Regions from separate parts of the Homo sapiens genome. Here region 2 is linked to region 1. The links are contacts of gene promoters, found by promoter capture Hi-C in blood cells and fetal thymus (Javierre and others, 2016). All regions are on one chromosome and are shown on one strand. Each heading gives the region's core, a stretch centred on a gene start or on the middle of the fragment in contact. The rest is flanking DNA. Distances are from core to core; before and after follow the strand shown. Region 1 holds the start of ZGLP1 (zinc finger GATA like protein 1). Region 2 overlaps TYK2 (tyrosine kinase 2).

The links. Contacts are between HindIII fragments. The CHiCAGO score rates a contact against its expected background, and 5 or more counts as called.
Region 2: a contact is called between a fragment that was not itself captured here and the fragment with the promoter of ZGLP1 in region 1, in 1 of 17 cell types (monocytes). The highest score is 5.3, in monocytes.

The regions. Positions count from the first base shown.
Region 1 is chr19:10,307,957-10,311,986 of GRCh38, forward strand. It overlaps ZGLP1 (zinc finger GATA like protein 1), which reads right to left and starts at 1,859. Exons shown (of 5, transcript NM_001409033.1): 1 at 1,393-1,859; 2 at 229-594. The coding sequence starts at 1,529. FDX2 (ferredoxin 2) reads right to left here. Exons shown (of 5, transcript NM_001397406.1): 4 at 2,897-2,984; 5 at 2,089-2,686. The coding sequence ends at 2,530. FDX2-ZGLP1 (FDX2-ZGLP1 readthrough) reads right to left here. Exons shown (of 9, transcript NR_176052.1): 4 at 2,897-2,984; 5 at 1,393-2,686; 6 at 229-594. The HindIII fragment of the contact is 20,285 bases long and covers 1,486-4,030 here.
Region 2 is chr19:10,367,810-10,371,399 of GRCh38, forward strand. TYK2 (tyrosine kinase 2) reads right to left here. Exons shown (of 25, transcript NM_003331.5): 4 at 486-609; 5 at 246-393. Among named protein-coding and RNA genes, the nearest start is that of TYK2, 11 kb to the right of the region's middle. The HindIII fragment of the contact is 4,563 bases long and covers 1-3,590 here.

The sequences.
Region 1 (4,030 bases), core at 609-3,108:
CTGATTCCTAAAGAGACCAGGTCTCACATTGGGAGTGGGGAGCCACTGAGTCAGGAGCGGCAGGACTGTATCTGGCACCAGCTCAAGTTGTCAACCAGAGACTGGGCCACGTGTAACGTAGAGCACAGGTGAGGGTCCACACCGACGCCAGAGAGCACCCCTACCTCCCACACTGGTGTTTGCGTTGTAACTGGGAGAAAGGGCGGCCTGGCCCCAGCCGGCCCCTACCTGTACGTGGGGATGATCTGCAGGCTGGAGTCCGGCTTTATCTGAAACTTCAGAGTCACCCCCTCGAACCCAGGGTCCACTCTCTCGGTGCCCCGGCAGGGGTTCAGCTGTTTCCGGGGCCTTCTCTGGGGTGGGGCCGAGGGAGTCCCCGGGGGCTGCAGACGGCGGCCCTTTTGGCTGATCCTGGTCTGTGTGTCCTTGGAATCCCTGTCCAGCAGCAGGCGGCCCTGAGTCCCCAGAGCCATCGGGTCCCAGCAAGGCCCCAGGACCGGGGTGTCCTGGGCAGGGGACTGACCCAGCCTCTCCACTGTCTCTTGGAGGAAGCACAGGGCGGTGACCGACTCCTGGCATGCAGGCCAGAGGGACCTGGGGAGAAGGGCAGTGGGGTCACGTTTTCTTGGGTGACTCCTGGGTTTAGCCGGCCAGGGGGTTCCAACTTGGGCCGGCTCTTTGTGTACCCTTGGACAGGCTACACACCCCACCTGAGGTTCAGTCATTTCTAACTCTGGGTGGAAGGTTTAAGAGTTGCAGTAATTGCAACTCACCTCGCCCACTGTGGGCCTCCCAGGCACGCCCAGCCCTCCACATCAATCAACCCCTTACGGCACCCGTAGATCACCCAGGCAGGGACCGCCCTAGGTGACCGAGGCAGGATATCAAGCCTCTGGCTGCAGGATCGAGAAAAAGGTTACTTTTTTTCTTTGTGTTTCTTTTAGAGACCGAGCCTCACTCTGTACCCCCGCCTGGAGTGCAGGGGCGTGATCAGGACTCAGTGCAGCCTAGAACTCCTGGGCTCGACCGATCCTTCCGCCTCAGCCTCCCGAGTAGCTGGGACTTACAGGCACGCGCCACCACGCCGCTGGCTTGCCATAATATGATTACGATTTTTATCATTTTCATTATTATTGAGTTGCCCTCCATAACCCCTGGATGATCCCTGGGGAGTGCCTACATCAGCCCCAGAGACATGGAATTGCATGGCCTCTGATCCCTAGATGACCCCAAGTGTCTCTGGGCACCAGAACCTCTTTGTAAGTTTCAGTAACTATTATAAAATTGCCACTTCTCGATAACCCCAGCAAAGAGAGGTCATGACCCCTTGATCACTGAGCCAGGTGGTGAAGTGCTAGCGGGGTCCGGGGAATGGGGTTTGGCCTTACGCACCTCTCACTGATTCTGCAGCATCCTGGGGTCCTCGGCTTCTCCTGGGAGGGGGATCCTCCCAGCCGCTCCAGGTTCAGACAGGGCGGCGCCAGAAGCTTTGCTGGCATTGAGGAGTCCGGGATTGGCTCGGCCTCCATTGCGCCCCAGCCCAGCCCCCTCCCTAATTTCACCCGGCCCTGTCCCGCTGGGCCCACCCGATGAAACCCACCTGGGAGGGGCGGGACCTGTGTGGTGGGAGCGCTCTTGGTAGAGGATGCGATGAGCCCCAGCTGAGAGCGACCAGCCTCGGCGGCACCTTTCCTCTTTCTGGCTTTTTTCAGGTCATCCGCGCACCCCTGCGTGGCAAGGGCGGCCTGGACCCCACCAAATCCCTCCGCAGCTGCCGGGGCGGGGCCTTCCACGCTAGCCCTCCCCCTCGGAAATGGGGGCTCCCAGGCCTCTGCCTTGGATCCCCAGCGGCATCTTAGATCCCAGAGGGAAAAGAGAACCGGGGGCCCAGCACAGCAGATGCAGGTGTGGTTTGTTTTTGTTTTTGTTTTTTTTTTTTTTGAGACAGGGCCTCACTCTGTCACCCAGGCTGGAGTGGAATGGCCTGATCACCGCTCCACTGCAGCCTAAATCCCCTGGGCTCAAGTGATCCTCCCACCTCAGTCTCCCGAGTAGCTGGGACTACAGGCACTTACCACCACTCCACGCTAATTTTTACTGTTTTTATAGAGACGAGGTCTCGCCATGTTGCCCAGGATGGTCTTAAGCTCCTGGCCTCAAGTGATCCTCCCATCTTGGCTTCCCAAAGTGCTAGGATTACAGGTGTGAGCCACCTGTAGACCCCAGATCTGTCCCCCAAGGACACTCAACATGCTGGGGCCTGTGTTATCGATTTATTGCAGCTCCAATATGAGTCCACTCCTACTCAAACCCTGATTCTCAGGGGCCTGGGGAAGGCCACCCCACTAGGGGCCCTGTCCCCACCAGAGCCTGGACATGGGACTCTCTCCCAAGCAGGGGTGTTGTCCTTCACAGGGGCTTCCACGTCTCTCCCGGGCCTGTCCGCACTCTGGGCAGGGCTGGCACCTGGCTATTCCCTCAATCTGGGCCCTGGGGCCATGGCAATGTGGAATGGTCCAGGTGTTCATGTCAGTGGGGCTTGGGGACATGGCCATCCACGTAGAAGTTCCTGGTGATCTTGGGCAGGGTGAATTCCGCTCCTTCCAGCTCCGGTGTCAGCACAATCTGGCAGCCCAGCCGCGAGTTCTCCTGGAGGAGGGGGGCCATGTCTAGCATGTCGTCTTCCCTAGGGTGGTGACACGGGCAGTGTTAGCCGAGGGCAAGCTAGCTGGGTGGGTGGGGGGCCAGAGGTGGGGGAGGGAGGAAGCTGACTGAGCGCAGGGGGTAGTGGTGGGGGAGGCAGCTCCCATTCCAGGAACTGGAAGTGGGGAGGATGGTGGGGGCTGCTGAATGCTCCAGGGTGAAGCTGCCAGCTAGACAGGGCTGACCCACTCACCTCTCCTCGGGAGGAGGCAGGAGATCCAGGTGGTCTTCACTCACATACACATGGCAGGTGGAGCAGGCCAGGGAGGCTTCACAGGCCCCTAGGGGTGGGAAGTGAAGGGGGCGCAGGTGAGTGGCAGAGTCAGGAAGGGGCTGCTATGCGAATGGCGTAGAGGAGTAGACCTCTCTTCCACCACGTGCCTCACGTCTCCCTCCTGGGCCTGCAGCTCCACTGTGTGTACCAGGCACTGTGTCATGTCCTCAATGTCCTCAGCTAGCTGTTCCCCAGTGTGTAGGGTTTACAAACGGACATCTGGGAGGCCCCATTTCCCAGGGACTCCCTAGCAGGCTGAGATGCAGAACCATTAAGGAGCAGGGACTTGGCTGCCAGGTAGCTGAGAGGGGAAAGGCCAGGCAGGCTCCCCGCAGTCTGTGAGCCCTTGCTGTGACCCTATCACTGTGCTGGGCTAATGTGTCCCCACCTCTCCACTGCTCTTGGAGGATGGACCGGCTGACTCAGCAGTCAGTGTGGTGGGGGAAGGAATCAGGCATTAGGATTTTGTTTTTTTTTTTTTTGAGATGGAGTCTTGTTCTGTTGCCCAGGCTGGAGTGCAGTGGCACGATCTCGGCTCACTGCAAGCTCTGCCTCCCGGGTTCACGCCATTCTCCTGCCTCAGCCTCCCAAGTAGCTGGGACTACAGGTGCCTGCCACCACGCCTGGCTAATTTTTTTATATTTTTTTAGTAGAGCTGGGGTTTCACCATGTTAGCCAGGATGGTCTTGATCTCCTGACCTCATGATCTGCCCGCCTCAGCTTCCCAAAGTGCTGGGATTACAGGCGTAAGCCACTGCACCCGGCCAGGATTTTTTTTTTTTTTTTTTGAGACAGGGTCTCACTCTGTTGCCCAGCCTGGAGTGCCATGGCTCAGTCATAGCTTACTGCCTCAACCTCCCGGCTCAAGCGATCCTCCCACCCCAGCCTCCCGAGTAGCTGGGACTACATGTGCGCACCACCACACCTGGCTAATTTTTTTTTTTTTTTTTTTTTGAGGTGGAGTTTCGCTCTCTTTGCCCAGGCTGGAGTGCAATGGTATGATCTCGGCTCAATGCAACCTCTGCCTCCCAGGTTCAAGTGATTCTCCTGCCT
Region 2 (3,590 bases), core at 387-2,886, 60 kb after region 1:
CTTGGGAGGCTGAGGCAGGAAAATGACGGGAACCTGGGAGGCGGAGCTTGCAGTGAGCCGAGATCACATCACTGCACTTCAGCCTGGGCGACAGAGCAAGACTCCGTCTCAAAAAAAAAAAAAAGATCCCCAGATAGCATGAGTTGAAACCTATTAGCTATATTGAATCAGGGAGGGAAATGGGGGCTCCTCAACTGCCCCTAAGTCTCCCACAAATAGTCTTGCCACCCCAGCCCTGCTCATACCTGCTCAAAGAGGTACTCAAATGAGGCTGGGTCCAGGAGTTGCATCCCCTGTGCTGTCTGATCTGAGGATGCCTCGGTTCCTGGGGGCCCACAACGGTACACAGCCGGTTCCCGAGGATTCATGCCATGCCAGTTCCGGAAATAAAACCTGCAGGAAGGAGGGACGCAGCTGGGGCTTAGCACAGAGTCAGACCAGCTTCAGCACAGGAGGGGACGAGCTTTGCAAAGGTCTCCACCCACCTTATGCGGAAATATAGCATCAGGCTTGCATCTCTGGGGATCTCTAGGATGTGGTTTGGGGGCAACCAGACTTGGGCCTGAGCATCGAAGAGGGCAAAGAGATTGAAGCAAGGAGGAGTGATACCTGGATCAGGTGAGAAACGAGGTCAGGAGTCACGTCATTTGCTACCGTCAGCCCCAAAGACCCCCCAGACCCAATGTCTGCCTTCACACTCCCTCTGAGGCCCCCTCCCCCACCTGCAGCTTCAGTCTCACGTTGCCCCTGGGCAGAGGACAGTGCGTATGTTGCCCATGCTGTGGCCTCACAGGAGGACTACATTTCCCAGCCTCCCTTGCAGCTAGGATGGAGCCAATTGCACTGCTGGTTTCTGGCCAAAGGGCTGGGTACATTTCCAAGCCTGGAAATAAATTCTCTTGCCACCTTCACCACCCGAGGTATGATGAAGGCTTCTTGTGACAGATGGTGAAGCTGTAAGACAGAGGTGAACCATCCAACCTGTACTTGATTTTAAGTAAAACTTTTTTTTTTTTTTTGAGATGGAGTCTTGCTGTTGCCCAGGCTGGAGAGCAGTGACACGATCTTGGCTCGCTGCAACTTCCGCCTCCTGGGTTCAAGTGATTCTCCTGTCTCAGCCTCCTGAGTTGCTGGGATTACAGGTGTGCGCCACCAACCCCGGCTAGTTTTTGTATTTTTAGAAGAGACGAGGTTTCGCCATGTTGGCCAGGCTGGTCTCAAACTCCTGACCTCAGGTGATCTGCCCACCTTGGCCCCCCAAAGTGCTGAGATTACAGGCATGAGCCACTGTGCTCGGCCGATTTTAGGTAAACCTTGATTAAGATTTGGGGGGATTGCTTATTCCTGCAGCAAAACTAATCCTAGCCTGACCCACATAACTCTACAAACTGCTGCAATTGTCTGGCGTCTCCCTGAACTCCAGCCCCAAAGAAACATCCAGTCACCTCCTGGCTGTCTCCCCCTGGACATCACAGGCCCCCCCTTAGATATGGCTTGTTCCAAACAACATATCTTATCTGTGGTTGGCAAACTCCAACCTTCCCTTCCTCTGCCCTTTTTTTTTTAAGGGTCAGGGTCTTTCTTTGCCACCCAGGTTGCAGTGCAGTGGTGCAATCCTAGCTCACTGCAGCCTCAACCTCCAGGGCTCAAGCGATCCTCCCACCTCAATCTCTGGAGTTGATGGGATTATGGCTATGAGCCAGGGTGTGTGGCTTCTGCCCAGTTCTTCAAACCAGGAACTTGGTCCTTATCTTCAACCTCTCCCACCTGCTCCAAAACAGATCGGTCACCAAGACCTGCTCTTCCTGCACCCTCCATGTCCTGGGGCTCCATCCACCACCTTCAAATGCAAACCTCAACCCCAATCCAGTCTCCAGACTTGCTGTAATTTCCCACACCAGCTACCCAGGGTATCTTTCTTCTACTGATGTCATTTAAAAATTGTACCTGTCGGCCGGGCGCAGTGGCTCACGCCTATAATCCCAGCACTTTGGGAGGCTGAGGTGGGCAGACCACGAGGTCAGGAGATCAAGACCATCTTGGCTAACATGGTGAAACCCCGTCTCTACTAAAAAATACAAAAAATTAGCCAGGCATGGTGGCGGATGCCTGTAGTCCCAGCTACTTGGGAGGCTGAGGCAAGAGAATGGTGTGAATTCAGGAGGTGGAACTTGCAGTGAGCCGAGATTGCGCCACTGCACTCCAGCCTGGGCGACAGAGCGAGACTCTGTCTCAAACAACACAACAAAACAAAACAAAGAATCAGCCATGGCCAGGCTCGAGGGTGCACACTTGTAATCCCAACACTTTGGGAGTCTGAGGCAGGTGGATCACTTGAGGTCAGGAGTTCGAGACCAGCGTGGCCAGCATGGTGAAATCCCATCTCTATTAAAAAAAAAAATAGCTGGACCTGGTGGCATGTGCCTGTAATTCCAGCTACTTGGGAGGCTGAGGCAGGAGGACTGCTTGAACCCGGGAGGCGGAGGTTGCAGTGAGCCAAGATCGTGCCACTGAGCTCCAGCCTGGGCGGCAGAGTGAGATCTGAAAAAAAAAAATTGGCTGGCCATGGTGGGGTGCACCTTTAGTCCCAGCTACTCCGGAGGTTGACGCAGGACAATCGCTTGAACCCGGGAGGTGGAGGGTGCAGTGAGCCGAGATTGTGCCACTGCACTCCAGCCTGGCGACACAGCAAGACTGTCTCAAAAAAAAAAAAAAAAATGGTATCTGGCTGGGTGCAGTGGCCCATGCCTATAGTCCCAGCACTTTCGGAAGCTGAGGCAGGTGAAGCACTTGAGGGCAGGAGTTTGAGACCAGCCTGGCCACCAGAGCAAAACCTCGTCTCTACTAAAAATACAAAAATTAGCTGGGTGTGGGGGTGAGCACCTGTAATCGCAGCTACTCAGCAGGCTGAGGCAAGAGAATTGCTTGAACCTGGAGGCAGAGGTTGCAGTGAGCCGAGATCACGCCACTGCGCTCCAGCCTGGGTGAAAGAGTGAGGCTCTGTCTAAAAAAATAATAATAAAATGAAATAAATAATTTTATCTAAAGCTGGGTATGGTGGCTCACATCTGTAATCCCAGCACTTTGGGAGGCTAAGGCGGGAGAATCACTTGAACCTAGGAGTTCAAGACCAGCCTAAGCAACATAGTGAGACCCCTCATCTCTAAAAAAACTAAAAATAAAATAAATTAGCCAGGTGTGGCTGGAGTGCAGTGGTGTGATCATGGCTCACTGCACCCTCGACTTACTGGGCTAAAGCAATCCTCCTGCCTCAGCCTCCCAAGGAGCTGGGACTACAGGCGCACGCCACCATGCCCAGCTGATTTTTGTAGTTTTTGTAGAGAAGGGGTCTCACCATGTTGTCCAGGCTGGTCTCAAACTCCTAGGCTCAAGTGATCCTCCCACCTCAGCCTCCTGAGTAGCTGGGAGGCTGAGCTACTCAGCCTCCAAAGTGCTGGGATTACAGGCATAAGCCAGTGTGCTCTGCCCTGAAGTAGTGTTTATAATTTTCATATCCTCTACAATCTAGCCTTAAATGTTATGAACTGTGGCTGGGCACAGTGGCTCACGCCTGTAATCCCAGCACTTTG